5 separate regions of the Homo sapiens genome follow, and all the other regions are linked to region 1. Evidence: promoter capture Hi-C in 16 types of primary human blood cells and fetal thymus (Javierre and others, 2016). All regions are on one chromosome and are shown on one strand. Each heading gives the region's core, a stretch centred on a gene start or on the middle of the fragment in contact. The rest is flanking DNA. Distances are from core to core; before and after follow the strand shown. Region 1 holds the start of XRCC5 (X-ray repair cross complementing 5). Region 2 overlaps CNOT9 (CCR4-NOT transcription complex subunit 9). Region 3 overlaps USP37 (ubiquitin specific peptidase 37). Region 4 overlaps ARPC2 (actin related protein 2/3 complex subunit 2). Region 5 has its middle 14 kb from the start of ARPC2.

Region 1 (4,301 bases), core at 515-3,014:
AGTGATCAATAAAGAAACTACTCTTTTTTAAGTGATCTCTTGACCCTAGAAATGTTTTAAAAACCTGAATGAATTCCTATCAGGGAAGTTATAGATGATTTCTAAATGTGGTTATATCTCAGGCAACACATGAAAAGAAAAGATTATTTTTCACTAGTTTACAAACAACACAATGCACTAAGAGATTTCTGAAGTAAAATTAGATTATTTGAAAAAAAAAACGTGCTAATAAACCACAAAATTCCTTTGAGAACAGTAAAATGCACATCCCAGTTTCAATGCCTGGGGCATGATAACCTAAAAAAACTTAAGAGTCACAAAATATGCTGCTGCACTTATTTGATACACACCCACAAAAGCTACTTTTAAACCAGAAAACTCTAGAGGACTAAAGCACTTTTGTCATGAATTAGGTATCCAGTAAGTGCCATCAAAGGGTTTCAAATATGGAACTTATTGTCTGGAAGCAGAATGGTCTATATTTCTGAGTTCCTATCTGGCAGCAGTAAGAAAACTGAGAAAGAGAAACCGGGTAGCATAGCAACTCTTCATTTCTATACCGAAGCAATACAGGCTGTTAGAATTTTACTTCCAGTTCATCTGCAACAAACAGCTCCTCCACTAGAGCTACAAAGTTTTCAGCAGCTGAAAGAGGACGAAAAAAGGAGGTGAGTGGCATTATTAAAAGTTCATGATCGTTTTAATCAACATTTCTCAATGAGGAGTTGAGGGAACTAGGGATCAGTTGCTCAAACTCGTATCTTGTTTATCTGTATTGAATAAATTCATTAATCCCTGGAACCACATCTCCCTCTAGTGACCCTTCAGAGACAACTACCACTCTTTTATGTTGAAAAAAAAAAATCACTTTAAAATTCATTGTAATTTCTGTTACTGATCTGGGACACCAATGGTCATAGATTTCTAGCAACACAGGGGTTCTCCAGGGCCCTGAAACCAGACAGCTTGGATTCAAATCCGGATTTCACCAGGAAAAGCCCACAGTTCTTTATTCCTCGGTTTTCCCACTTGCAAAATGGGGATAAATAGTTTTCACTTCAAGGGGTTGTGAAGATTAAATGAGATAAGAATAAAAGGTTTAGATCCGTCCCTCACAGAGTGGGCTTTCAATAAATGCGGGATACTACGTTATTATAAAGCTAATAATACGACGCTTTACAGTTTAAGTTATTTTAGTCACAGATAGTCCCTCTCTTAAGTTTTACAACAAGCCCTGTGGGATAGTTGCTTTATCACAGCTAATTTTCATTCTCATAGAGATCTTAAGAACCCAGGCTCGGAAGTAATAGAGGAAGTGGGGCTAGGGAGTGGAATGGGATAAAGAGAGAGAGAGGGGAGGCGGGTGGGGAGGCAGGTGAGACAAAGAGCAGGTAGAGAGGGAGAAGAGGGATGGGATGGGTGGGTAATGGAAGAGGTGGAGTCAGCGAGGCTCAAATTCAGGTCTTGGAGCCCCAAATCTCCAGCTTTTCTCATAGCGCATCCCTCGGTCCCGGCCCTCCTGACTGAGCCCACCACCATGATCTTCTCTTGCCCCATTCTTTGTCTTGACCGCGATCCCACGATTCCTGCTTCCGAACCACCCTCTCCGGATCCCCAGTCCGGGTAAAGCCCAAGTCCATGGCTTTCTTTATACCTTATTCCCCGACCGCACCATGTTGCCGGTCCTCAGGCGCTTTGGTCGCTTCTTCCGGGCGGGAACCTGCCGTGTCGCAACTCGCTTCCGGTGGACAAGCGGCAGATAGCGGAAAGAGCCGCTTCGTTTCCTGCTAGGCCTGAAAGGGGCGGGGAAACCGTGCCCCGGAACTCTGAGCATGCGCAGATTCCCGCCGAGCTTGCGCAGATTCCCGCCGAGCTCGCGCAGATTCCGGCCGAGCATGCGCAGATTCTCTCCGAGCATGCGCAGATTCCCGCCGAGCATGCGCAGATTCCCGCCGAGCATGCGCACATTCTCTCCATTCCGCCGTAGTCGGGAGCGTGTGGTGTTTGAGCCGCCTGAAACGCTAGTACGACAGATTTACTTAAAGATTCACTTAATCACTTAAAGATTCACGTCCCTTTTCTCTCATTGAGAATAACACCTAAGGCATTTTGTGTCAGAGCTCTGGAGTTAGATTTCTTTTCTTTTTTTTACTTTTTTAAAAAATCTTTTTTCCTTTAATTTCATTTTTTCATTTATTTTTTATAACTTTTGATTTTTTTTTTTCTCATCACTTGTGGGTTTTTTTCTACTTTTTATTTTTGGTTATTGTGGAGTTAGATTTTCTTGAGTATGAGTATGAATGCAGAAAGTCACTTAACTTCTCTAAAAGACTCAGTTTCTTCTAAAAAGTGATAATGAAACACTTCACCGATGTGATAACCTTAGAGCCAACTGGGGAAGAAGAGTAGGACGTCCCCAGGAGCACAAAAGTAGAAGGGAGATTCTACTCTGCAGAGAAAATGGGATGCACAAACGCCTGGAGGCATGAGACTTTATCTGCTAAGGCTCTCCCAGTAGTTAGCAGTGGCTCCAGCTTGGAAGGGAGGAGTCAAGGTTTAATTTAGAAGACAAGTCTAGGGAGATATAGAAATAGCAGCTGTCATCACAGTGCTTTACTTGATCACGAGCCCTTTGTCCAGCCCGCATCCCCTACCCCTTTGAGGGAGGCAGGCCCAAGCAGTACCTTGCATAGAAATGACTGCTTTCTATACCATATGACCCCCAGCTGACAGGTGGCTGGACGAAGGGTCTGGCAACCTGCAAAGTGTCTGCAAACCTCTGCCCAAACTGAGAAAATCAAGTCCAATCAATATTCTCTCCTGCTTGAAAATTGTTTCTGGGAAAAGCAAGAATTGAAGCTGAAAAGATGTGGAGAATCTATGAGCCAAAATTATAAATACATTGAAGCCTCTAGAATGTAGAGTCAGACATATTCAGAGGTGCTCATAGAGCCCAGGAGGTTCTTCCAGCTTTTGATTCAAACTCAAGGAGTTACTTAAAAGCTGAAATATTATTTTTAATAATACTTTAAAGGAACAGCAGCGCCCTGGCCGCTCAGCTTTGCGCGGGCTGCAGCAGGCAGGCAGGCAGGCACGGACACTCGCCCTTCCCTGCGGGTAAGATTTCCAAGAGAAAGATCAGCTCGGCAGAAGGGGCGGGGAAGATCTGTGAGGTTGTCAGCTAAATCTCCTCCAGCAAAGGTGGAAACGAAGCCCAGCGGAGGCAGCAGGACAGCATAAATTTTCAGACAAAGAAGCAAACAAGGAAAAATGGGAGCAAAGGGCAAACAGGCCAAGTGGCTATCCGGGAAACAAAAGATTTATCTGTGGAAAGCGGAGAAACTGAAACAAGGAGAGTCCAGCCTCTGGTGAAGCAGGACAGAAAGAAGCCAAATCTGATTAGTATCACATACCATATCTTGTCAGTGGTCCTTGTCTCCCTTCTTGTACGATCCAGAGCTAGAGAGAGAGAGAAAAGGAAAGAAACAGACAGGGTGTCGCTCGGCCGAGGCTGGAGTCCAGTAGCACAATCATAGCTCTCTGCACCCTGGAACCCCTGGGCTCAAGCGATTCACTTACCTCAGCCTCCCAGGTAGCTGGGACCACAGGTGTGTGCCACCAAGCCCAGCTAATTTTTGTGGGGTTTCTGTGTGTGTGTGGAGGCGGGGTCTTCCTATGTTGCCCAGCCTGGTCTTGAACTCCTGGGATCAAGCGATCCTCCCGCTTCAGCCTCCCAAAGTGCTGGGATGACAGGTGTGAGCAACTGCACTTGGCCTCAGAGGAATATTTTTATCAACTATTTTGATAAGGAATATTTTTATCAACTATTTTTAAATGCAAGTTTTTTAGTAGCTGTAGAAACTTTTTTTTTTTTTTTTTTTTTTGAGACAGAGTTTCCCTCTTGTTGCCCAGGCTGGAGTGTAGTGGCGCGAATTCTGCTTACGGCAACCTCCGCCTGCCGGGTTCAAGCGATTCTCCTGCTTCAGCCTCCCAAGTAGCTGGGATTACAGGCATGTGCCACCACACCCAGCTAATTTTGTATTTTTAGTAGAGATGGGGTTTCTCCATCTTGGTCAGGCTGGTCTCGAACTCCCGACCTCAGGTAATCCGCCCACCTTGACCTCCCAAAGTACTGGGATTACAGGCGTGAGCCTGTGCCTGGCTGAAACATTTTTAGGAAGGAGGGAATCCCACTTTATCCCATTTTTAAAGTGTAGCTTTTAAAAGGTGAAATAATTCACTTGTTTGTTGTTTGGTACAACCAGGAAACACTGAAATAGTGAATAATGGGAGGCTTTCAC
Region 2 (4,301 bases), core at 1,253-3,752, 2.5 Mb before region 1:
CTCACAGTACTTATAAGTTCCCAAAAGATCTTAGCTTGACAGAATGATGACCTACCCATTGTACAGATGTAAAGACAAAGAACACAAAGAACTGCCTTTGTTGAAGATCAGAAGCATAAAATAGACTTTGAAGTGGATTCAAATTTACTCTACCCAATCTGAATAATGGCCTTTTAAAAATGGAAGCTTCATTGTAAGTTTTTAGCTTTATTTTTACTATTTCACTAGCCTGACAGAAAGAACCACAAGTTGTTCTGCTAAATAGACTGAAATACAATGCAGCTTAAGCTTTAAGTGCCTTACAGTAATCTGCTAAAAGCTGTTTTGTAACTCCCTTCAGGGATGGTCCTCAAGGAATCAATCATAGGCTCTTAAAGCAACAATATGATAGAAGGAATATGGTAGCTTTTTTCCTCCTTTCCCAACAGCAAAAGCAGTGTTGTTCAGGCACTTGCCCTTTCTAGGCAGCCACAAACAGGCCCTCAACTTAAAAACTATTTTTGGAAATGTAATTCCTACCTGAAGATAGGGTATGTGTTTATTTAGAATATTACATCACCTTAGACGCTCAGCAGAAACACAGGATAAAATTTTAGTGTTAGGTTTCCTGCCCAGTCTCTTGGATGACCCCACAATCCAGTAACCAAAGGGGGCCTCACAGATACTGGTCTGGCAATATAGTACCTTTCCTGATTAATCAGTACCCATTCCAGCTGACCTTCCCCAAAGTCTTGTCATACAGATACCACCATCAGTAAACTCCATCATCCCTACTGGAGCCAGTGTGTGACTTGCAGTTGGCACCTTGTACCCCATCTTGCCCTGGTAACCACTGGTTTGCATACCATGCCTCCTGAACACCAGGCCCCATCCCTACATATTCTCTTTCTGGAGCTGGCCTGATGCCCACAGAGAAGATGGCCCTGCTGGCAGTGGTGTAGGCACTCTGAAAGGCCAATGCCTGGTGCGTACACGGGTTCCTAAAGCCATGGACACCTGCTGCTAGCAATACTCCAATTTGTGAGATTATTTGTGGGGGCTGCAGCCTCCATGTGATTTTGATTCTAAGAGAGCTAGAACCATGTCAGGTGGGTGGTAATGTGGCCCCCATGGGCACTAGCTTGGTGTTATGGGTTCTGCTGTCATTCTAGCCAAAAGGAGGGCAGTTTGGTGCCAGGAAATATCTAGGGTGGGGATCCTCCTTTTCATCATCCCTGTTGCATTTCACCCCCAATTTAATAACAGCAGTAAGTTACACCAACTGAATACCCACCTGTCATGGGATGAATACAATTTTTTAAAAATAAAAATGAGAGCTTAAAACATACAGTGCTTACTCTGCCAGGCACTGTCCTAAATACTTATATTTACCAGCACTCTCATTTTATAGATAAGGAAAATCTGAGGCACAGAGAAGTTATGTAAAATTTAAATGGCAAGCTAGGATTTGTACCCAGGTGTTCTAGCAACAGAGCCCACACTTTTAACCGCTTTGCTAATGCTGCTTCTCATCTGCCTGAAAGACAAAATCTGATCTAAAGATGACTTTTTTTTTTTTTTTGAGATGGAGCCTCACTCTGTCTCCCAGGCTGGAGTGCAGTGGTGTGATCTCAGCTTACTGCAACCTCCGCCTCCCAGGTTCAAGCGGTTCTTCTGCCTCAGCCTCCCCGGTAGCTGGGACTACAGGCATATGCCACATGCCCAGCTAATTTTTGTATTTTTAGCAGAGATGGGACCTTCCCACGTTGGCCAGGCTGATCTCAAACTCCTGACCTGAAGTGATCTGCCTGCCTTAGCTTCCCAAAGTGCTGGAATTGCAGGTATAAGCGACTGTGCTCAGCCTAAAAATGACTTCCTAATAAATTATATTCTTTGACCTAGACAATATAGTTAATACATAAAAATCTCAGACAAAAAGTAAAATGTTATTGGTGGTAGTTCAACAAAATCTGAAAGAACACTCAGTACTATGAACAGTAGCATTGATGTTAGGAGAAATTCTCTACTTATTGAGATTACAAAGCACTTAATAGGTATTGTTTTCAGAGAGAAGTCAGTACAATAGTTTCACATAGTTCCCTGTGTCACATTATGGATCAGATGGGGCATAATTTACTTAGTGAGAACCACCAACACACACATGGACATATAACAAGCAATTTTGTAACACACATATAGGAATTTCATTGTTTTGGAGAATAAAAAGGAAATATTCTTATATTTTGAGTTATATATTAATTTATATAACCAGATGATTGATAAAATATTTTGGACATTCCTAAATAAAACACCAAAACTCAAAATGTATCTTACTCTCCTTCCATATCCCAAGAGTTATTTAGGCCCATCTTTCACAAAAAGAATCTGTAATTGACATCTTTTTAAAAGGAGGCGGGCAGTAGAAGAAGGGGTACGGCAGGTGAGGGAAGAGTTAGTTCTGTTGTACCACCTTTTTTTAAAAACATGGTTTCATTTAATGATCACAACATGGTGGTTATTAACCTCATTTAACAATCGATGAAACCATGGGCAGACAACAGGCAGATTTACTCCTCATGCCACTCTGTAACGATCACCTCTAATGATTCCTAGTTCAGATGCTACAACTCTTTGAATTTTTAATTTACTAATACATTTCTAAGGCTGTGGCTGATATGGAACTCAATCTAGTAGCACACATTGCTCACTGACAGGCAAGCAAATTAATCTATGACTTCTCTACTGGAAATTACCTTATTTGAAGCATTAATAATAATTGCAGGATACCAACCAAGAGAGCAGAGGTTGACATTTTTTGAGGCCCAGACCCTTTAAGAATCAAATGAAGTCCGGCACGGTGGCTCACGCCTGTAATCCCAGCACTTTGGGAGGCCGAGGTGGGAGGATCACAAGGTCAGGAGTGTGAGACCATCCTGGCTAACATGGTGAAATCCCATCTCTACTAAAACTACAAAAAAATTAGCCAGGTGTGGTGGCAGGCACCTGTAGTCCCAGCTACTTGGGAGGCTGAGGCAGAATGGCGTGAACCCGGGAAGCGGAGCTTGCAGTGAGCGGAGATTGCACCACTGTACTCCAGCCTGAGCCACTGTACTCCAGCCTGAGCTACAGAGCAAGACTCATCTCAAAAAAAAAAAAAAAAAGAAAAAAGAAAAGAAAAAAGAAAATTGTGGATCTTTTACTCAGAAAAATACACAACTGCAAAAACACGAAAACCTACACATAATTTTAAGGAGTTCACAGAGTTCCTGCAATGTATCCATGTACCCAGGATTAAGAATCTGTTTATCAAATTGAAGAACAGGAAAGACCTCAATTTGCAAGGAACTACATGTGTATATAATTGGAACACACACTGGCGTGGGAGCCTGAAGTGACTTCAAAATCCAGTTTTGCTCTTTCTAGAATTGTGTGACCTAGGATAAGTCATTTAACTTTCCAAACCTCAATTTTCTCATTGTTAAAGTGAAGGAACTATATTAAATAATTGTCAGTCTCAGGCAACTCTAAAATCTTAGAAATTATTTAGTTCTTAGTTGTGAGAGTCTAATCTAAGAGGCTCTTTTTTTAAAAAAAAAACTTTGACGTATAATTTGCATACAATAAAAGTGAACTCATTTTAAGTGTACGCTTCAATAGATTTTTGAGAAATTTATACACCTAAGTAACTGCTACCATAATGAAGATATAGATCCATTCACCCCAAAAAGTTCTTTAATGCCCTTTTCAGTAAACCCCATACTCAGCCTGAGGCAATCATGGGTGTTTTCTGCTACTATAGATTAGGTCTGCCTTTTCCAGAAATTATTAATATGCAGTAATATTTATTGAGCATACCATGTTTCAGGCACTGTGGATTACATCATTTTATTCTCAAAATTCTAAGAGGAAACAGGTTAATAGAGGTTTAATGTGCTCAAGGTCACACAGCCAGTGTACAGCAGAATGAGACTGAAACTCTACTTCTCTCTAGAATCGATGAGTTCTATCTGGTCTCAAGGATAGAAAGCACAAATACTCCTCCAAGTTGAAGAAATTACTCTTAAGAACCCAAAAAAACTTTCTTAAATTTAATATTCCCTTAGCACAGAACTCATTAACAGCTGGATTTGGATACACAGTGAGCTCAATTACATACCTGGACACATAGAATCATCATGAGAAATCTGATTTAGATTATGAGTTATCCTTAACACTTCCAAGAATAGAAAAAAGCTCTATAGTACATTACCGTAGATTATTAATTGTAACCTGCTAAAGTCAACAGTCCTGGCCAGGCACAGAGACAGGTTCACACCTGTAAT
Region 3 (4,301 bases), core at 908-3,407, 2.4 Mb before region 1:
GCAGTGGGTAGTCATGGCTCACTGCAGCCTTGACCTCCTGTGCTCAAGTGATCCTCCCACTTCAGCCCCTCTAGAAGCTGAGACTATAGGCGTGTATCACCATGCCTGGCTAATGTTTTTTCAGTTTTTTTGTAGCGATAGAGCCTCCCTGTGTTGCCCAGGCTGGTCTCAAATTCCCAGGCTTAAGCAGTCCTCCCACCTCAACTTCTCAAAGTTTTGGGATTACAGGCTGAGCCACCATGCCTGGCCTGAACACACTTTTTTTTTTTTTTTAACTTATATTTGGAAATCCAGACCCATTAGCTTTCATGAAGGAAGAGAATAATCAACACTTTAATGGTGAAGGCAATCACTTTGAGAATGGGATCTTATTCCTGTTGACATGTCTTTAGCGGTAGCAGTATGGTTGTGAATGATACAAAATGTAGAATTTAGGCACTAATAAATACAGTACTGGACACATGGCAAAGAAGGGAAAATGAAGGCGCAGAAGAAATGCATGGTGGTTAGAAATTAATTACTAGTAAGTTATAACTTATCTTATTTTTCTTCCTTAGAACCTGCCAGGTAAAGGTATATTTTTGCTTTTTAATTTAGCCAGAAGCAATTTTTAAAGAAAATATGTCTCCTCTGAAGATACATGGTCCTATCAGAATTCGAAGTATGCAGACTGGGATTACAAAGTGGAAAGAAGGATCCTTTGAAATTGTAGAAAAAGAGAATAAAGTCAGCCTAGTAGTTCACTACAATACTGGAGGAATTCCAAGGATATTTCAGGTAATACCAAATATTGATTTGGAATAGCTCTTGAAGCAGATCATTTAGTAAATAGCTATTCTGTGCCATAGTAAACATCACAGTAGCCCTCCTCCTAGATTAATATTTCTTGCTTCTTATTTCTAGGACATTAATATTTTTATGTACATGTTTTATAAATTATTCATCAGTATTGTTGTTGGTATATAATAAAAGCAGGAAGTAGTCACCATTATTGAAAAGAAAACTTGTGGGAGGAAGCTGACAAGAGTTCGGATACTGTATATCTAAGCTATTTTTAAAACCACTTTAAGATAATTTTAGTTCTTCCTTTTTTTCCCCTTAACATACATGACGATGGATTCATCACTATTTAGTGTTAGTTTTTAACAGAATTTATTAGTGTCTTCTAAAAGCCAGTGTCTACTTCCTGAATAATCCTGCCAAATGTCATGGTGTGAATCATTCAAGGATGATTATTCAAGGTTATCTTTATAGCTATTTTCTTCTAACTGTGAAGTTTTGAAGAATCTTCATTTTCACTGCAAAAATTAATTTTCTTTTCACCTTTTTTTTTTTTTTTTTTTTGAGACAGAGTCTTCCTCTGTCACCCAGGCTGGAATACAATGACATGATTTCGGCTCATTGCAACCTCTGCCTCCCGGGTTCAAGCGATTCTCCTGCCTCAGCCTCCTGAGTAGCTGGGATTACAGGTGTGCGCCACCACTCCTGGCTAATTTTTTTTTGTATTTTTAGTAGAGACAGGGTTTCACCATGTTGGTCAGGCTGGTCTTGAACTCCTGACCTCGTGATCTGCTCGCCTCGGCCTCCCAAAGTGCTGGGATTACAGCCGTGAGCCACCGCGCCCAGCCAAGATATTATATTTTTAAATTAGATTATGCAAAAGTGTAATATCCGTTCTAAAATATTCTATTGAAAAACAATATTTAACTTTATGCTTCAGAACCTGATCTTAGGTAAAATTTGTATTTGTCTCTGCTTTTGAATTGTAAAAATAGATTGCCTATGATTTCGTGTATCAAAGGTAGTCTTAAATAAGATAGAGGTGGTGATGGAAAAATAGTAGTTTGTCACATGCATATATCTGCTAATTGTTCGCCTCATCAAAAGAAAGGGTTTTTTGCAAATACAGGCTCATTTTTTTTTCAATCCTCAGCCCAATTTGGCAGTGAGTAAATATTCAAATGTTTAACCAAATACAGATCTTTAGGAGCATGACGGTTTTACCTGTGACTTCAGCCTTTATCTCAGTTCCAGATCAGTTTACATTCAGCATTCGTTTGTTAAAACCATGTACAGGTTACTGCTATGGATATTGTGCTAAGGGATGGCTGGGCGCAGTGGCTCATGCCTGTAATCCCAGCACTTTGGGAGGCTGAGGCAGGAGGATTGCTTGAGTCCAGGAGTCCAAGACCAGCCTGGGCAACATGGCGAGACCCTGTCTCTACAAAAAAAAATTCAGAAACAAATAGCCAAGCATGTTGGTATGTACCTGTAGTCCCAGCTACTTATAAGGTTGAGGTGGGAAGATGGCTTGAGCCTGTGATCATGCCACCGCACTCCAGCCTGCGTGACAAAGCAGGATCCTGTCTGAAAAAGAAACAGGGTGGTTGGGGGACAGGGGCTGGTAAGTATACACAGCTGAATGAGACATCATTTCCTTCAAACTTAAGAGTAACCAAATAGGCCAGGCGTGATGGCTCACGTCTGTAATCCCAGCACTTTGGGAGGCTGAGGTGGGCAGATCACCTGAGGTCAGGAGTTCGAGACCAGCCTGGCCAACATGGTGAAAACCTGTCTCTACTAAAAATACAAAAATTAGCAGGCACGGTAGTGGGCACCTGTATTCCCAGCTACTCGGGAGGCTGAAGCAGGAGAATAGCTTGAATCCGGGAGGCAGAGGTTGCAGTGAGCTGAAATCTCACCATTGCACTCCAGCCTGGGCAACAAGAGCGAAACTCCATCTCAAAAAAAAAAAAAAAAAAAAAAAAAAACAGAAAAACCCAGAGTAACCAAATACATTTTTAGCTGTAAAAACATTACAAAGATCCTGAGGTAACACAAGAAAGCAAGCCATTTGCACTCTGAAGATTCAAAGAATAAATAGAAGTTTGCCAAACATAGTAAAGGTGGAAGTGATGTCTTTTTTTTTTCTTTAACCCTGAATTTTCTGGCCAAACTGGAAGTGATTTCTGTATATTTTCTGGCCAAACTGGAAGTGATTTCTGTATGTAGACAAATACATGAAATGTGAATCAGCACTCAGGGAACTAGAAAGTTATTTTTAAAATATATGGACACTGAGGAGTGAGTAACAGAAATAAGGCTGAAGAGCTAGGTAGGAACCAGATATTGATGTTTCTTGTTTGTCATAAGGAAAGCAGAAGTTCTAAGGAGCCAAGAATCTCAAACTCACATTTCTTTGGGGCTAGGCAGATGACTTTATTTCAGGTGATAGTGGGAGAATAGAAGGACATATAGGAGGTTATTATGGGAGTTTAGATGAGGAATGAAAGTAAGGAAAAGGGAGTGGAGTAAGCAAGAAGAGGAAAGGATAGATCTGAAGAGATTTCAAGAAGATTTAAAGATTTGGGAGGTGTGAGAGAAAATTATCTGGGGAGAGTCTCAAGTTTTTGAGTGGATGGCAGTCACTTTTATGTCTTCCATGATACGGAGCAGAGGGGAAGAATTGGGGTGTGAGGATTAGGAGAGATGAGTTATCTGAGGTGTCAAGCATTCAGAAGGTAAACAGGACTGGAGCTCCAACAGAGAGGTCTGGGCTTAAGATAGAGGAAGAGTTGTGTGTCGTTACCATATGAATAGTTACTGAAATTGTGGGGCTGGATGGGCTTTTCAGTTGTTGAAGTGTCGAAGTTCAAGAAGATTCTCATCTTTTTTGTTAATGAACAAACTTTGCTTTGTATATTTAATTTTTAAAAAGTGATAAATTGACTGAAATAATGCGTTTAATGTTATCTATTTTCCTTTTGCATACTAAACTGCTTATTTAAGTATTTTGGAGTTAAAAGCATCTAAAACGAATTATTGTGTTTTCCTAGAGAATTTCCACTCAAGGACATAATTTTACGACCCACTTTGATGCTAAAAATACATATATAATTTAAAATTTGAATATAAATTGGCAAAATTGTTTTTCATTCTTATCTAATAATTAACAAAAGTCAATTTTCTCTAGTTTAAAAAAAATTCTGAAGTATGTTACTAGTTCTTTGTTTATGCTTTTCAGAGGGCATGTCTTCAGTAAAAGGCAGTTTAGAAACTTTTATATATGCCTGCTGAGAACATTAGAGAATAAGGCTGCCTGACTGGCAGGAATTATTTAGATAATGAAGAAACTGTAAGATTTACTAATTTAGCCTTGGAAAAATTCCATTTAAGAGAAAATAAAAGTTATCGCTTCATAGCACATTTCCAAAGTCTGGTAGAGTCTAAGATGAATTATTGAACCAGTTCTGTGGAGAGAGAAGTAAGTTAAGAGTTTTCAGGTCCATATGATCTTTGAA
Region 4 (4,301 bases), core at 982-3,481, 2.1 Mb before region 1:
CAATCAGAGTACACAATTCATTTTCTCATGGACCTGAACCTTTGGACTTGCTTTAAGTAGAGGATAAAAAAGGAAGGTCAGATAAAAAAGGAAGGCCAGCTATAGCTTTTGTTTTTCACCTGCTGTTGAATCTACTGCTTTGGTTGGTGCTCACTTTCAATTCTGAATTTCCTAACAACATGCTATATACCACAAAATGCCATCTTTTGGTCAATGCCTTCCCCACAGGACAGTGGTATTAGGAGTAAAACGTTCAGCAGGAAAATGGCTAAGTATAATGTAGAATGGTTTTAATATGCTTAAAGAGAAAGGATGATTTCGGGCCATAAACAAAACGGCAAGTTCTATTCCACTTCAAAACCCGTCTGTAAGCCTTCCTACTCATCTTTCTTTCTTCCTTTACATCACCAAAGTACTTACCACTCACCTTCAAGAAACCCTCTTTAGTTCTACCCTAGTTTTGTCTTGCTTTGTAAATTCCAGCTCGGAACTTAAAATAGACAGTGTAACACAAAATAACACTATGAAATCACTAAGAATAGTCAGGACATCTGCTTTACAACTTTAGCTTTCTCATCACGCTCATGTTTTGGGACAAATACCCTTACACCTTTGCATTCTCCCCTATCATCAATAAAATGGGGGAATAAAAATGAACCTATTTACCTCATGGAACTACTACATATAACACAAGAACAGACCTGAAGTCCAAAGTAGGAAGCAAATGAAGACTATTGCCTTACCAGCTAGCTACCTGTAAACTCAATGATTCCACTTTGTTTTAGGGGCTAGCAAACAAGATGCGCATGTTTTCACATTTATTTTTGTCTAACTTGCTCAAGACCTCTTAATCAAGTACGTATCTTTCCACGATCTCTGCTCCATTACCTGCGAAAGAAACGAAGACTAAGTTGCTCTCCAGGGATGCTGGGAAATAATGGAATATATAACATGGTTTATGAGTGTTAAAAAGCTGATATAGAAGCCAGACAATACCTTTCAAAAAAACTGGCTTCTATGAAGCATGCTAGCCCTGCTGAAAAATCAACCTATACGAATCATACAAAGCTTCACCTTGCTTCTTCAAAGCCCTATATGTGACTTAGGAAAAGCGCACTGGGTATCTCTACGAATTGAAGTATCAAGTGGGTTTACGGAGAAGCAGAGAGTTCAGAATAGAAGGAAAAAACTAGATGAAAATTTAAATTGCTTCTGAGCCTTCATTTTGAAACTGTAGCCAGGAAACAAAGGCAACGAGTCCAATACCATTCCTCACCTCTAGAAAACAAGAGCAAAGAACAAAAATATGGAAATGTTAATCATGGACCAACTGAATGAAATATTAAGAGGATGACCAATGGGAGGAAGCATGGAAGCATACTTTCCTGGGGAAGGCTGACTGTGCTGAAGAGTCAGGGAGTTTATAAAAGCCCATTATTACATCACTTAGTAAGTTTTTTTTTAACCTTTAGGTTTTAATTCAGCCAAAGAAGGGCTGAGTTCCTCACTCTCCTACTTTGTCAAAAGACCTGAGAAAAACCAACTATAAATAAATAACCTTTGGGCTCCAAGTCATACACACTTTGAGTCTCTAATTTCAAATTTCTCTAGGCATAAAGTATCCTGAGCACAGATCCTTGTGGGAAAAGTTGCTACGATCGATCTTAAGTGGTCTGCTGTCTGACTTAGCAATATTTGTCAAATCACATTCATTAATATTTTAGTTTACTATTTATGGCTAGAAGAGAGAGAATGGCTGCTGAGGAGAGTATTAGGCCAAAGGAGACTTCATGGGAAGTCTTCTGGGAGTTAGAGGTCCGAGAACTCAGTGCCTTAACGATGAGTTTGCTGAGCGTGAAGTATACCATCACAAGATTGCTTCTCAATTCCAAGACCTGGCGTTTGTTATTTTACTTCTGTGGTTTAAAATTACAAAGGAGCGGGAGGAAGACTGGCCCAGGAAAAGTGTTCCACTAAATAGGCCCCCAGAATTAATAGTTACATTATTTACTGTTCTACCAGCTGCTAAAATTTCAGATGCTGGGGGTGAGAAAAAGCAAGTTATTTAGAATTCAGAATTTATTGGCTATGTGACCACAGGCAATGCTCCTCAAATGTCACCGGGCCTCAGGTTCCTCTTCTACAAAATGGGGACAAAACATCTACCTCCCAGGTTGGTGTGAAGACTGAGATGATATATGTCCAGCAGTACAGCAGTCTCCCCTTATCTGTGGGGGATATGTTCCAAGACACCCAGTGGATAAATAAAAGTGTGGATAGCACTGAACTGTAGCAAAGAAACACCAAGGTCACTTTTTTTACTTAAAGGAATCACTTCATGGGTTCTCTTTGGCATATCCAAATTGCCAGCATCATTACTCCTGTACTTTGGAGCCATTATTAAGTAAAATAAGGGTAACTTGAACACAAGCACTACAATGCTGTGACAGTCAATCTGATAACCTAGACAGCTATTAAGCGACTAACAGAGGGTAGCGTACACACTGTAGATATGCTAGACAAAAAGATGATTCATGTCCTGGGCGGGACAGCGCAAGATTTCATTATGCTACTCAGAATGGTGCACAATTTAAAATTAATGGATTGTTTATTTCTGGGATTTTCCATTTAATATTTTCAGACCATGGTTCACTGCTCACTGCAGGTAACTGAAACTGCAGAAAGCAAAACCACAGATAAGGGGGGACTACTGTACAGCAAAGTTTCTCAAACGGTGTCTTTTAAGTTATAGATATGCTGAGGTAATGATCCCCATATCCCTTAGGGCAGGCAGCAGGTGGCAGGATCTCTGAGAGGCTAGACCATTTACCCAAATGTGCCATACAAATACAATCATGTTCTGTGTGCCATACGATAAACAAGGTCAAGAATCACAGTGAAGGATGCCTGCACGGTGCTTACTTAATATGTAGTAGTTACTTATTCAATATCTACCCCCACCCCCAATCCTCAAGAGCCCTGGTTTTCTCAGTTGTAAATGAGATCCACTATCTGTCACAGAAATGAAATGAAACCATGTTAAGGCATATAGCACAGTGCCTAGCTCATAGAAGGTAATCAATAAATTAGTTCTTCTCCTAGGTGGAGTCAGAGATCGGACTCTGAAGCTGTGGTTGGGAGAGGTTTTAGGATTGCGGTAATTCCCTGAATCAGGAATTGGTTAGCAGTACAAGGAAAAACAGAACTCCTATAAGTGTCAGACTGCTGTAATGTCTGGAATCCTAGAACAAGCCGGCTGGGTAAGTCCTCAGAGTTACTGCCTGGACAACCCAAGACACTAAAACATAATCAATTCATTCAGACAGGTTTTAAGAGCTATTCTTAAAACCCTTTAGAAAAAATTTTCTTCTATCTTTTCTCTAAGGAAGCTTCTAGAATGTCAATAATCAATCCAGAAAGGGCTTCTGGCAACTGTATTATCTCATCTTCTTTTCTCATTAACAACTTTGGGGTTTTTACTCCTGAATGCACCCTAGGATCCAATTCCCCATTTTTTTCTTTTTTCTTGAGATGGGGTCTCGCTCTGTCACCCAGGCTGGAGTGCAGTGGTGCCACCTCTGCTCACTGCAACCTCCGCCTCCTGGGTTCAAGTGATTCTCCAGCCTCAGCTTCCTGAGTAGCTGGGATTACAGGTGTGCGCCACCACACCTGGCTAATTTTTGTATTTTTAGTAGACATATGTTTTGTCATGTTGGCCAGGCTGGTCTCAAACTCCTGACCTCAAGTGATCCGCCCTCCTTGGCCTCCCAAAGTGCTGGGATTACAGGCGTGAGCCAGGGTGCCTGGCCCCAATTCCCCATTTGGGCATTTATGTCTCTCTCCTACTTATCCCTTCTTATGTCCTGAATTAGAGGAATTACTGAATTCTGCTCACTATAAAGGTTTCTGAGCATTCTCCTTTAAATCTTCTATAAAGCTCCCATCATTCTTTTTGAGCAAAGCCTAAAAAAATAGATCATATTAGGTAAGAGGTGGTCCTATTCTCCACTAAGCCATATATCAAAATATGGAGAACAGAGACCTAAAAGCTGATTTACTCAATGTCACAAAAATGTCAGCTCCTAAAGAAACAAGGAATCATTCTATCTGGCTTCATTAATTTCTTCAATAAACCAATTTACTGAGTTGACTATATACACAATGAGGATGCTGGGGAAACAAAGATGATTAAAGTGATAGACCCAGCTCTTAAGGAGTTATCAGTTTGGTCCAGCACAGCTCTGGGGCTTCAGGACCAAAGTGGTCCCAAGTAGGCCACAGGACAGGTGGCAGTGTGTAAT
Region 5 (4,301 bases), core at 620-3,119, 2.1 Mb before region 1:
TTCTATTATTTGTAAATTACTCACTCTAAGGTATTTTGTGATAGCAGCAGAATGGGTTAAGATAAAAGGGAACTTCCTTTACATGATAAAGGGCATTTATGAAAAAAATCCCACAACACATCATTCTCAATGGTGAAAGACTAAAAGCTTAGTTTCTAGAATCAGAAGCAAGACAAAGATGTCTGTTGTCATCTGTGCTATTCAACATTATACTGGAAGTCCTAGACAGAGCAATTTGGCAAGAAAAATAAATAAAAGGCCTCTAAATAGCAAAATAAGAAGTAAAACTACCACGATTTGTAGATGACTTGGCTCTCTGTATAGAAAATCCCATAGAATCTCAAAAACCTACTATAGCTGGTAAAGGAATTAAGCAAAGTTGGTGCAAGGCCAACATACAAACATGAGCTCTGTTTCTTTACACTAGCAGTGAACAATCTGAAAAGGAAATTAAGAAAACAATTCAATTTACAGTAGCATCCGAGAGAATAAATTACCTTGGAATAAATTTAACTGAGGAGGTGAAAGACTTGTACACCAAAAACTAAAAACATTGATGGAAGAAACTAAGGAAGACCTAAATGAATGGAAAGACATCCCATGTTCATGGGTTGGGAGTGTTAATATTGTTAAGATGGCAATATTCCCCAAAGCAATCTATAGATTCAATGTAATCCCGATCAAAATTCCAATGGTCTTTTTTTTGGAGAAATTGAAACTTATCCTCAAGTTCCTATAAAACTGCAGGGACAGGCTGGGTACAGTGGCTCATGCCTGTAATTCCAGCACTTTGGTAGACTGAGGTGGGCAGATCATGGGGTCAGGAGATCAAGACCATCCTGGCCAACATGGTGAAGTCCTGTCTTTACTAAAAATACAAAAATTAGTTGGGCATGGTGGTGCATGCCTGTAGTCCCAGCTACTTGGAAGGCTGAGGCAGGAGAATTGCTTGAACCCGGGAGGCGGAGGCTGCAGTGAGCCGAGATCACGCCACTGCGCTCTAGCTTGGGCAACAGAGCGAGACTCTGTCTCAAAAAGAAAAAAAACAAAAAACAAAAAACAATACCCAGAGAACTGCAGGGACCTCTGAATAGCCAAAACAATATTTAAAAAGAAAAAGAAAATTGAAAGACTCACACTTCCTGATTTCCAAACTTACCAGGAAGGTACCTGATTTCCAAACTTCCCAGGAAGGTGTTTTTGAGACAGGGCCTAACTCTGTCACCTAGGCTGGAGTGCAGTGGCACAATCTTGGCTCACTGCAACCCCTGGGCCCTGGACTCAAGTGATTTTCCCATCTCAGCCTCCCAAGTAGCTGGGACTACAGGTGCACACTACCACATTTGGCTAATTAAAAAAATATTTTTTTTTCTGGAGAGTTGAGGTCTCACTATATTGCCCACGCTGAAGTGTGGTACTTGTATAAAGACAGACACATATAGACCAATAAAATAGAATTGAGAGTTTAGCAATAAAACCAAACATCTATGGTCAATTGATTTTTTACAAGGGTGCCATTTAATGGGAGGAAAGAAGAGTCTCTTTAACAGATTGTGGTGGGACAATGGGATAACCACATGCAAAAGAAAAAATGAATTCATACCCTTGCCTCATTCCACATGCAAAAACTAATTCAAACTGGATCAACAACCTAAATGTAAATGATAAAACTATTAGAAGAAAACATGAGGTAAATCTTCATGACCTCAGATTTGGCACTCAAATCTTGAGCAACAGAGAAAGAAAAAGATAACTTGTTCTTTCTTTCTTTCTTTTTTTTTTCTCTTGAGACAGAGTCTCACTCTGTTGCCTAGGCTGGAGTGCAGTGGTGCGATCTCGGCTCACCGAAACCTCTGCCTCCCGAGTTCAAGTGATTCACCTGCCTCAGTCTCCCAAGTAGCTGGGACTATAGGTGTGCGCCACCATGCCATGCTAATTTTTGTATTTTTAGTAGAGACAGGGTTTCACCATGTTGGCCAGGCTGGTTGCGAACTCCTGACCTCAGGTGATCCACCTGTCTCAGCCTCCCAAAGTGCTGGGATTACAGGTGTGAGCCACTGTGCCCAGCCAAATTGTTCTTTCTTAAAATTAAAAACTTGTGATAGACGTGTACCAACTGTTCCTCCAAACCTGAGATGAGTCAGCCAAGAACTGCCATCAAGTACATTAAGCTGAAGGTCTGAACCTATGTAATACAATAGGTTGTGCTATTTACAGAAAATGAGTGACTAAACAAAAAAAATTTTTTTAATTAATAGAGATGGGGTCTCACTATGTTGCCCAGGCTGGTCTTGAACTCCTGGGCTTAAGTGATCCCCCGCCTCAGCCTCCCAAAGTGCTGGGATTACAGGCGTGATCCACTGTGCCCAGCCTGTTGTTTAAATTTTAAGTGGTTTAATGGGTCTCCCAAGGAGTTACCTGCTTTGGAAAATCGCATATATTGAACCTCTCGTTTTGGTATAGAAAGAGATGTGGCTGGGCGCGGTGGCTCACGCCTGTAATCCCAGCACTTTGGGGGGCTGAGGTGGGTGGATCATGAGGTCAGGAGATAGAGACCATCCTGGCTAACACAGTGAAACCCCGTCTCTACTAAAAATACAAAAAATTAGCCGAGTGTGTTGGCACGCGCCTGTAGTCCCAGTTACTCGGGAGGCTGAGGCAGGAGAATCGCTTTAACCCAGGAGGTGGAGGTTGCAGGGAGCCTAGATCAGGCCATTGCACTCCAGCCTGGGTCACAGAGCGAGACTCCATCTCAAAAAAAAAAAAAAAAAGAGAGATGCATCACTTTTGTTAGTAGAAAATTTCTCCTTGTCTCTACTGAAAAAATGTTGAGTTGAAGGAACGGGAAATTATTAACTTGCCTGAGGTGTTCTCATGACTTGATCCAGTTAAGTTAGGAGGAGCAAATGTGACAGTGGAGATTAAGGAGATATTTTTTAAAAATTATTTATTTATTTATTTATTTTCGAGACAGGGTCTTGCCCTGTCACCCAGGCTGGAGTGCAGTGGCGTAATCATAGCTCACTGCAGGCTTGATCTCTCAGGCTTAAGCAATCCTACAGCCTTAGCCTGCCAAGTAGCTGGGACCACAGGTCCACACCACCATGCCTGACTAATTCTTTTGATTTTTAATACAGACAGGGTCTTGGCATGTTTCCCAGGCTGATCTCAAACTCCTGGGCTCAAGCAGTCCTCCTGCCTCAGCCTCCCAAAGTGCTGGGAGGTGTGAGCCACTGTGCCAGGCCGAAAGATACTCTATTTGGATAGGAGATGATGGCAGTTTACTCTGGGTGGAGTAGTGGAGATGGAGAAAAGTGGAGTTTTTGAGAAATTATTTCAGTGAAAAAATCAAAAATTTCTGGTGATGGACAGATGCTCCACTAGTTTTCTATGCTGAGTAACAAATTACCACAAACTTAGCAGCCCCAAATAACACCCATTTATTATCTTACAGTTTACATGGGTCAAGAGTCTAGGCACAACTTAACTGGGTCCCCTGCTCAGGGACTCACCAGACTTCAGACCAAGTATTGACATGGGCTGTAATTTCATCAGAGTCTCAACCAGGGAAAGGTCAATTTGCAAGCTTCCTCAGGTTATTGGCAAATTCATCTCCTTGCAGTTGTAGCACTGAGGTCCCCATTTTCTTTCTGGCTCTCAGAGGCCACCCACAGTTCCTTGATAAACATGATAGCTTTTTTTTTTCTAATAGAAGAATTGTACTTACTTAGAAGCATTCAGAATGTCAACAAAACAGCTGCAACTTTTTATTTTTTTGTAATTACAAAGCGGTATTCAGTTAACAGAACAATTATTTCATATAAGCTGCATCAGAGACAACTGAAGATAAAAAAACTACCATCCCTGTATATAACTAATTTGTGCTGTGCACCAACAAGAACCTGCTTTAAATTTCCATGCCAATTTACAACCCCCATACTGTACCAGGCAAGGTTAGTGGCTACTGAAAATACCACCAGAATAGGGCTATCTAAAGACACATTCGGTAGTGTGTTAGCTATACAAAAAAAAGACACTGTGCAGTTTAAAATAAAATCTTACACAGCCTTACATTTCATTTTTTTTCTTTAAAAGGAGTGAGTTGTGTGCAGGGGGGTTAAATGCTTTATAGACAAGAAAAAAAAACTGTGCTAGAACCAACTTATTCATCATCATCTTCTTCATCTTCATCTTCTTCATCTTTCTCCTCCTCCTTCTTATCCTCTTCATCTTCCTCATCTTCCTCCTCTTCCTCCTTTTTCTTGCCTTTTCAGCCTGGACAACTCCTTTTTTTTGCTGCA

The links. Contacts are between HindIII fragments. The CHiCAGO score rates a contact against its expected background, and 5 or more counts as called.
Region 2: a contact is called between a fragment that was not itself captured here and the fragment with the promoter of XRCC5 in region 1, in 1 of 17 cell types (neutrophils). The highest score is 6.3, in neutrophils.
Region 3: a fragment that was not itself captured here is called in contact with the fragment with the promoter of XRCC5 in region 1 in 1 of 17 cell types (neutrophils); the score reaches 5.1 in neutrophils.
Region 4: a contact is called between a fragment that was not itself captured here and the fragment with the promoter of XRCC5 in region 1, in 1 of 17 cell types (neutrophils). The highest score is 6.7, in neutrophils.
Region 5: a fragment that was not itself captured here is called in contact with the fragment with the promoter of XRCC5 in region 1 in 1 of 17 cell types (neutrophils); the score reaches 6.6 in neutrophils.

The regions. Positions count from the first base shown.
Region 1 is chr2:216,106,811-216,111,111 of GRCh38, reverse strand. It overlaps XRCC5 (X-ray repair cross complementing 5), which reads right to left and starts at 1,764. Exons shown (of 21, transcript NM_021141.4): 1 at 1,655-1,764. The coding sequence starts at 1,675. RefSeq lists an enhancer at 1,419-2,040. The HindIII fragment of the contact is 16,954 bases long and covers 1-4,301 here.
Region 2 is chr2:218,574,227-218,578,527 of GRCh38, reverse strand. The region is part of intron 1 of CNOT9 (CCR4-NOT transcription complex subunit 9); the gene reads right to left. Among named protein-coding and RNA genes, the nearest start is that of CNOT9, 7.5 kb to the right of the region's middle. RefSeq lists an enhancer at 416-916. The HindIII fragment of the contact is 4,423 bases long and covers 291-4,301 here.
Region 3 is chr2:218,554,974-218,559,274 of GRCh38, reverse strand. USP37 (ubiquitin specific peptidase 37) reads left to right here. Exons shown (of 26, transcript NM_020935.3): 4 at 598-777. The coding sequence starts at 622. Among named protein-coding and RNA genes, the nearest start is that of USP37, 11 kb to the left of the region's middle. The HindIII fragment of the contact is 9,842 bases long and covers 1-4,301 here.
Region 4 is chr2:218,221,494-218,225,794 of GRCh38, reverse strand. All of the region lies in intron 2 of ARPC2 (actin related protein 2/3 complex subunit 2), which reads right to left. Among named protein-coding and RNA genes, the nearest start is that of ARPC2, 6.5 kb to the right of the region's middle. RefSeq lists a silencer at 2,926-2,975. The HindIII fragment of the contact is 2,321 bases long and covers 1,071-3,391 here.
Region 5 is chr2:218,201,250-218,205,550 of GRCh38, reverse strand. It overlaps the pseudogene HMGB1P9. Among named protein-coding and RNA genes, the nearest start is that of ARPC2, 14 kb to the left of the region's middle. The HindIII fragment of the contact is 3,439 bases long and covers 150-3,588 here.